2 separate regions of the Homo sapiens genome follow, and region 2 is linked to region 1. The links are contacts of gene promoters, found by promoter capture Hi-C in human tissues and cell types (Jung and others, 2019). All regions are on one chromosome and are shown on one strand. The core of a region is centred on a gene start or on the middle of the fragment in contact, and the rest is flanking DNA. Distances in the headings are between cores, read along the strand shown.

What was found. The method cuts DNA at HindIII sites, captures the fragments that hold promoters and counts their contacts. A contact is called where the count stands out against the background at its distance.
Region 2: a fragment that was not itself captured here is called in contact with the fragment with the promoter of GZMB in region 1 in 1 of the 25 tissues and cell types used here (thymus).

What each region holds. Positions count from the first base shown.
Region 1 is chr14:24,631,731-24,636,099 of GRCh38, forward strand. It overlaps GZMB (granzyme B), which reads right to left and starts at 2,460. Exons shown (of 5, transcript NM_004131.6): 1 at 2,376-2,460; 2 at 1,185-1,332; 3 at 594-729; 4 at 128-388. The coding sequence starts at 2,430. GZMH-AS1 (GZMH and GMZB antisense RNA 1) reads left to right here and starts at 1,372. Exons shown (of 3, transcript XR_007064087.1): 1 at 1,372-1,618; 2 at 2,566-4,369. RefSeq lists an enhancer at 1,839-3,038. The HindIII fragment of the contact is 16,614 bases long and covers 1-4,369 here.
Region 2 is chr14:24,578,986-24,583,208 of GRCh38, forward strand. No RefSeq gene overlaps it. Among named protein-coding and RNA genes, the nearest start is that of CTSG, 4.8 kb to the left of the region's middle. The HindIII fragment of the contact is 5,672 bases long and covers 1-4,223 here.

The sequences.
Region 1 (4,369 bases), core at 1,210-3,709:
TCTTTCCAGAGAGAAATATCACAGTCTAGTGGGTGAAGGAGTCCCCCACTACTTGAGTCTCCAGGTCTCAGATATTCCCCAAACATCTTTCTCCCAAGAGCCAATCCAGGCAGGTGCATAGTCTTACCTTAAAGGAAGTCTTTTTAATCTCTGGGTCCCCCACGCACAACTCAATGGTACTGTCGTAATAATGGCGTAAGTCAGATTCGCACTTTCGATCTTCCTGCACTGTCATCTTCACCTCTTGTAGTGTGTGTGAGTGTTTTCCCAGGGGGGCCGTCTGCCCCCAGCCGGCCACACTGCATGTCTGCCCTGGCTTCACCTGGGCCTTGTTGCTAGGTAGCCTGAGGGGCTGCACAGCTCTGGTCCGCTTGGCCTTTCTCTCCAGCTGGTGGGGAAGAGGCAAGAAAGTCCAGGTCAGCCAACGAACTTCTGGGCCCCGACACAGTGATGGGGCTGCACAATCTTCCCTCTCCTCTGAGGCATAGGAACTAACCAAGAGGCCAGGATGGAAAGGAGGGAAGGGCCGGCATTCCAGGGGGAGTGGAACCAACTGGACCAAGAAGAGCAAGAGTGGCAGGAGTGTGCCTCACCTGCAGTAGCATGATGTCGTTGGAGAAGTTCTTAGGATTATAGGCTGGATGGGGGATGGGTCTTTTCACAGGGATAAACTGCTGGGTCGGCTCCTGTTCTTTGATATTGTGGGCCCCCAAGGTGACATTTATGGAGCTGCACAGAGAGCAGAGTGAGGATGGGGGTGGAGTCACAGGGTATACAGCCCAGAGACAGTGAAGAGCAGGTGACAGCTGGGGCAGGGCTGCAGCTGAGGGGAAATTAAGGGGACAGTCGGTCCCCAGGAATTGGAATTCTGGTAATTGCACCAGGTTTCTCAGGGTTCGGTTCCCCCTAGAAACACAGGTGGAATTGCTTCAGTTTGTATTCTATGCCAAAGTATGCCCCCAGTTCTAAATATGGCAGGCTTGGTCACTCTGCTGTTTCTTACTTCAGCAGCACCTCTGGAACCAACCTTCCCCTCTCTCCACAAACTTAACTGCCCTTTTCTCACCCTCTAAGGAGACCTCCTGGCATGTGTGTTCACAGGAGCCCAGGGAGCTCCTTGGGAAGAAGGCAGGGGTCTCTGTGGAGTGTTTCCAGGAGGGTGTGGGCTGTTTTCTGCTCCTCACCTTCCCCAACAGTGAGCAGCTGTCAGCACGAAGTCGTCTCGTATCAGGAAGCCACCGCACCTCTTCAGAGACTTCTGATCCCAGATCATAAGATAAGCCATGTAGGGGCGGGAGTGGGGCTTGGCCTCATGTCCCCCGATGATCTCCCCTGAAGGAAAAGTCTGTCTGCTTGTGGGCACCCATGGAATCTGCTGGGTGGGCACCTGCTTAGTGGCTCCAGAACTCCTGGGCATTTGGGAGCCTGGGATAGCCTGGAGTTGGGAGTGGCCTGGAGGAAGGGGCTTCAATTTCCTGCTCTGAAAAAGGGAAGAACAGCAGACTTTGGTCTGTAAATCTTTCTTCCATATGTAGTTGAAGGCGAGCATACCTGTCTTAGGGACAGTGAAATCCCAGAGGCTCCTGATCATTCCTCTCCTGACTTTGCTTTGTTTCAGGTGAGTTTCCAAGACCCTTATGAGTCCTGTGGTGTCTAGGATAGTGCTGCTTTCTAATGGCCAGGGTGTAAGTGGAGGGATCTAGATACTGTCATATCCTGTTTCCTAGAGCCTGACATGTAGTGGGTGCCCAGTAAATGTTCATGGCTGCATGATGGACTGGCTCCAGTTAGCCTCTGGATGAGGGCTGGTAGAGCAGTGCTGGTGGAATTCTAGAAAGCAGGGAAGCTGGGGCCTGCCGTAGTGCCTCATCCTTGGAAAGAGGGGAGCCACCAAAGGCCAGGGAAGAAAAGCAGAGTTGGAGAATGGGACTGAGCAAACACATTAACAGTGTTCTGAGGACAGTGATTGTACCAATTCTGCTGTCAGCTGAGCTCTGGGTTTCTCTCCTAAGTAGACAGTGAGAGAAGCACCTGTCTTATCCCAGAAACAGAAGCCAGGCCTACTCTAGAATAATTTAATATTTCTCTTTTCTAGTTTCCCATCCTCTGCCATTTACTTCTAGGAAAGTCCTACTCTCCAGGTGACAAAGGTGGGCTCTGGGGAAGGGATAGTACCCACTGGCTCTTCTTGAGAATGGCCTGCTGCTCTGCCATTCCTGCTGATAGCTTATCCAGCATCACACTTGGGGGGTCTTGGTAGAATGGGAGCTGGAGTTCAGAACATTCCTGGTAGATAGATGGATCAGGAATGTGGAGAAAGGGCAGGAGACCTGTGGGATGGGGTTGGGCCCCCGAGGGTGGAGACGGTCACTCACCTGCATCTGCCCTGGGCAGCAGGAGGAAGGCCAGCAGAAGCAGGATTGGTTGCATCTTCTCAGGAAGGCTGCCCTGGTTGGAGCTGCTGTTGTTTCCTCCTTGCTCTCTTTTAGCTCTTGGGAGAGGAAAGAGGTGGAGCAGGCTCAGTGACTTCATGTTCCCCTCTGGTTTTGTGGTGTCTCATCACAGATTTTCTGTAAATGCTGCCCACCCCCACTGCCTCTGCCTGATGACGTCCTCTGGGTGCTTGTGTGAGAATCATGCAGTGACCACATCATCACCCACAGCTGATGACTCAGAGTGGACCACCTATTCAGCCCAGAGCAGGAACCCAAGCCTATGAAGTGAATTGTAGGATGTGGTATCAGCCAGTAGAGGTACTGGAGCACCAGAAACCTGAGTTCCCAGTGATAGAACCGCCAATGCCTCATGGCCATGCTGCTAAATCCATCAGGATAGTTTCTTTAGCAGGTATGTGTTTGAGCCCTTCTGTTGTGCTAGAACCAAGCATGTTGGAGATGTGTCTCCTTCACTTAGAGAGCTGACCATCTGGTTGAAGAGACGGAAATGCCAGGAGCCAGAGTACAGTTTGGGGAGGGCTATGGTAGCACAATACACAAGGCAGTAACAAAGCATGGCCACCATCTACTAGACCCATCTAGCAACCCATTTATTATCATAGCTTCCTTTCTAGAGAATTTCTAACATCCCTTATTTAGTTACAAATGTTTAGTGTGAGAGTCCACCTCTTTTCTGAATGCTTTCAATAAAAGTCCTGTACTTGACATTTTATTGGGCTAGATTAATGAATTGCTAGGAGTCAAATCCACTTTGGGTAGGCTGGGGTCAGTCTACTCAAGCCACTAGAACCAAGAATGAGAAAGGGCTGGTTCTCTAAAGGACGTTTGTGGTGCTAAATTGCTGATACCATATGAAGTGAGGAAGCATGCCAGGCAGCCAAAGATCAGTAGTTGTGTTGTTTAGTATTCTGTCTCCTGTCCAGAGAGCCACACTTCTTACATAGCAGGCTCAGCACATAACAGGCTCACAGTAAACATTTGCTAAACAAACTACACTAATGCTATCATTATAATGGATGTGAAAGATTGTTGTTTCTGAACAGCCCGTGCCCAATTCTGTTAAAAGACAACTAAGTCTCTCTACATGGTTCGATTCTTGTGATTTGTTTCCACCTTTATATTTTCTGTGAGGAAATTTTTCTATGAGGAATGGTATATCTCAAAATATAGAATTCCAGTGTAAACGTCTTCCTTGTCAATAGCAAGCCAACTACATTTATCAAACTTCTATTTTTTGAACCTAGCTTGCCCCATAGTAGACGTTTTAAAAATAATTTTTTCTGATTATAGTCATAATATATGTTTGTTAAGAAAATTTGGAAAGTAGGAAGGGAAAATATCACTTTTTAACCTGTCTCCCACAGACTGACTGTTACCATAAGCAGTGTGTTTTAAATACTTGGGATCACATTGTACATACAATGCAATTTATTTTATCCTTGATTAACCCTACAAATTAAGCATTTTCCCCATGCTCGTAGAAATCTTAGTCAATACAACTATAGTCTTTCTTTCCTAGGCATTAAAAAATTTAATATGCAAGTAATTTTTAAATAATTTTAGCAAAGCGAAAATAATAAACATTACCTAATTTCTCATCATTCACTGATAACCATCTTTAATGTCTTGAAATATGCTCTAGCACATTTTTTCTCATGTAATATCTGCATTTTTTAAAATTAAAAGGGGATTATGCTAAACATAAGTTTATGACCCATTTAAAAAATTGAGGTAAAATTCACATAACATACAATTAACCATTTTAAAGTATTCAATTCAGTGACATTTAGCACATTCAAAATCTGCAACCACCACCTCTGGATATTTCATATAAACGGAATCACACAATACATGACCTGTTGTGGCTGGCTACATTCACTTGTAATAATGTTTCTGAGATTCATACAAGCTGT
Region 2 (4,223 bases), core at 522-3,021, 53 kb before region 1:
ATATTAATATATCATAAGTAATTTGGGTTTATTCTAGGAACACATAGTTGACTTTTCATTTGAAAAGCAAAATTGCTGTAACACATCATATGAACTGACTAAAGAAGAAACATCATGTGATTATTTAATTGAAACAATGAAGGCCTAAAATTTACCCTTATTTACTTAAAAAATACTCTTAGCAGACTAGGAATAAAAAGAGTGTCTTTAATCTGATAGAAGTTATCACAAAATTCCCACAGCAATCATTATACCTAATGGAAAAGTGTTAAAACCTTTTTTTGAGAGCAAAACATTACAATAATGCCTGAATACAAATTATTATCAGTTCTGTTCAACAAACAGTACATTAGCAGTTTTAGCCAGTGCAGTTAGGTAGGAAATGGAAATGAAAGGTATAAAGACAGGAAAAGAGAAAACAAAATTGTAATGATTTGAGGAAGTGATAGTATACGTAGACAATCCAAAATCATCTACAGGTAAATTACCATAATTAATAAGAGTTTTACAGATTTGCTAGAAAAAATCAATTTAAAAATTAATCATATTTCTACATGTACTGCAACACTGTTAGAAAGAAATTTTTAGAAAGTAATACTTAAATGGCATGGAAATGATCAAATAACTAAATGTAAATCTAAAAGAATATGTGAAAGACCTCTTTGGTGAAAATTATAAAACTGAATGAAGAGACATTCAAGAAGACCTAAACATGAAGAGATTCCATGTTCATAGATTGGAAGAAGACTAAATATTGTAAAAATGTCAGCTCTCCCAAAATTGATCTATATAGATTCATTGCACCGAGCGGTATTTTATAGAACTTAACTGATTGTAAGTATATTTGGAAAACAAAAGGCTAATGATAGCCAGGTCACCATTAGAGAATGAGAATAAGATGGAAGACTTGCTTTTGCAAACAAAGCCATGGGAATGAAGATAGCGTGGTATTGATGAGGCATAGAAACATGGACTAATGGACCAGAAATAAGGACTCCACACGCATGTGGACGCTGACATACACATGGATGGATTGATTTATGATGGATGTTGCATCTTTCATCATAATAGGGAAAAGACTATTTTCTTTTTTTATCCCCAATAAATGGTACTGGGATAATAAATTGCCTTTATGGTGTCCTATAGAGACAAATATTTTCTATGTGGAAAAATAAAACTTGACCTTCTTCTCCCAAAATATCAAAAAACCTATTCTAGGTAGATTATGGATCCAAGTAGGAATAATGATTTGAATATATAATGGAAGAATATCTTCATGATAGGTAAAGATTTTAGTACTGTATATAAAGTACTAATAATGAAGAAAAGGACTGATGAATTTGACACATCTAAATTGAGAGAAACAAAAGACCATTCATGGAGTAGGCAAAGATGCTTGAAATACACATAAACAACAAAGGGCTTATATTCAAATTACATAAAGAACTCAGAAATCTGGCCAGGTGCAGTGGCTCACCCATGTCCCAGCACTTTGGGAGACCGAGGCGGGTCGATCACTTGAGGTCAGGAGTTGGAGACCAGCCTGACCAACATGGTGAAAACCTGTCTCTACTAGGAACATACACAAAAAAATTAGCCAGGATGGTGGCACATACTTGTAACTTCAGCTACTCGGAAGGCTGAGGCAGGAGAATCGCTTGGGGAACTGGGGAGGCTGAGGTTGCTGTAAGTGGAGATTGCCTCACTGGGCAACAAAGTGAGACTCTCAAAACAAAACAAAACAAAAACTTGCAATGAAGAAGACAATTAACTTAATAAAACAATAGCCAAAAGACTTGAACAGTTTTATCTCAAAACAGGAAATCGAAGTGGTCAATAAACATGAAAAAGTGTTACTCTGACTAGATATTAGAGAAGCACCCATTTGAAGCACAATGAAGGCCACGTATGGTGGCTCATGCCTGTAATCCCAGCACTTTGGGAGGCCAAGGTGAGGGGATCACTTGAGCCCAAGAGTTCGAGACTGTGTGTGATGGCATGTGCCTGTAGTCCCAGCTACTTGGAAGGCTGAAGTGGGAGTTGAGGCTGCAGTGAGCCATGATTGTGCCATTGCATTCCAGCCTGGGTGACAAGACAAGACCCTGTCTCAAGGAAAGAAAAAAGAAAAAAGTGCAATAACAGTTGCAGCTACCATGTTGGCTCTTTTCCCAATCCTAGGTATATACCCTAGAGAAACATCGGGTGCAAATTTCTACCAGATACATGTCCAAGAAGGTCATAGCAGCATGTTCAAGATAGCCTCAAACTGGAAACACTTCGAAGGTCCACTAACAGCAGCATGAATAATCAAATTGTAGTATATTCATATAATGGAATATTGCATAGCCATAAAAATAAAACTCTTCCTTCATGCAGCTATGCAAATGAATCTTACAAGCATAAGTTAAAAGAACCCAAGAAGACAACTTTAATTTTATTTATATAAAGTTCAAAACTAGGCAAAATGAAACTATACTGGATAGAAATACATACATACATATACATATATATACATATATATGTATATATGTATATATGTATATATATACATGTACCATATATATATGTATATATATGGTAAATGTATAATGAAAAGCAAGGAAATAGTTATCACCAAAGTCAGAATAGTAGTTAACTCTGGAATTGGAGGACAGAGAGAGCATTTTGAGTAGGAAGAAACATATGGCAGATTTCAGTAGTGTTGAACAAACCCAATTTCCCGACATAAAATGTAGTGTTTAACTTATAATTATTCTTTAAACTCTCCATTTATGTTTTATCAACTTCTCTTGTGTGTATATTTTGTAATACATTTAAAAAAAAATCTGATTGCCAGAGGATGGGGATTAGAGAGAACATTCAGATGGAGAGGGGAATATATATGAGTAGAGTGGGGCACATACTTTTAATTTATTTTTTATTTTAATAAAAATTGTAATATTTGAACAAAAAGACCAATATGTTTCACAATATCTATAGCTGGTTACATCTGCTTTTGACTGTTTTATTACATTTCCGTCAGTTATAATTTTTTTCTCCTCTGGGATGTTGGGACATTAATGTAGGACGTTTTCCACCTCCTCCCTGGGCCCCATAAGCCGCGGACAATGCAAATCCTCTGAGAAGGCAGTTGCCAGTTGTTGCTGGGTCAAATCCCCCTCATTTCCTCTGATGCTACTCTAGTCAGTAACCAATCTAGTTCCTCTTGGCTTTGTAGGAGACCAGCATAGTACTGAGTCACTCCAGACCCTCAGAGCTACCTTAAAATCACTCTTAAAAGGACATTTTGGAAGCTCCTTGGGAAGTTCCCACTGATGAACTTGTGATTGCTTTATTAAGTGTCGGTGCTGAGAGAGGGCTGTGCCAGAGTCATTGTCTTCCAACCACAGTTGTCTTCAGGGAGCCAGATGCTTTCTTGCCAAGAACTGGCCTGTGTTGTCATTTTTGTAGGAAAGAAAAGGTGACAAAGGAAAGAGTGAACCCCTCAGAGGGTCCTGAAATGCATACTTTGCTGTAGCAAAATCACTGGGAGTTGATTAAAATCTTCTCATCAGAGTAGTTAGAGGGAAACAGGCAATGCACAAGCCCTGGCTATGGCAGAGAAAGATTTGAAAAAAGATTCAAGGTCTTTCATGTTTCCTGGCAGAAAGGCTTACTTCTAAGATTGAGCAGTGCCTCTGAGATCCTGGGTAGATGTGAGAAAGGTAAAGGTGATATTTGTGTGTGTGTGTGTGTGTGAATGTATATATGTAATTTTTTTCCTTATCAATTCATCCATTGGTGAACATTTAGGTTGATTACATATCTTTGCTACTGTGGGTAGTGCTGCATAAACATGGAAGTGCAGGTATCCCTTTGATATACTGATTTCCTTTCATTTGAATAAATACCCAGTAGTGGAAATGCTGGATCATGTGGTAGCTCTATTTTTTTTTTTTTGGTGAAACCTCCATACTGTTTTCCATAATTGCTGTACTAATTTATATTCCCACCAACAGTGAATAACAGTTTCCTTTTCTCTGCATCCTCACCAGCATTCCTTATATTTTGTCTTTTTGATAATAGCATTATAACTGACATCAGATTATATCTCACTGTGGTTTTGATTTGCATTTTCCTGATAATTAATGATGTTGAACAGTTTTTCATATCTCTGTTGGCCATTTTCTGTTAAGAAATGTCTATTCCTATCCTTTGCCCTTTTCATAGGATTATTATTATTA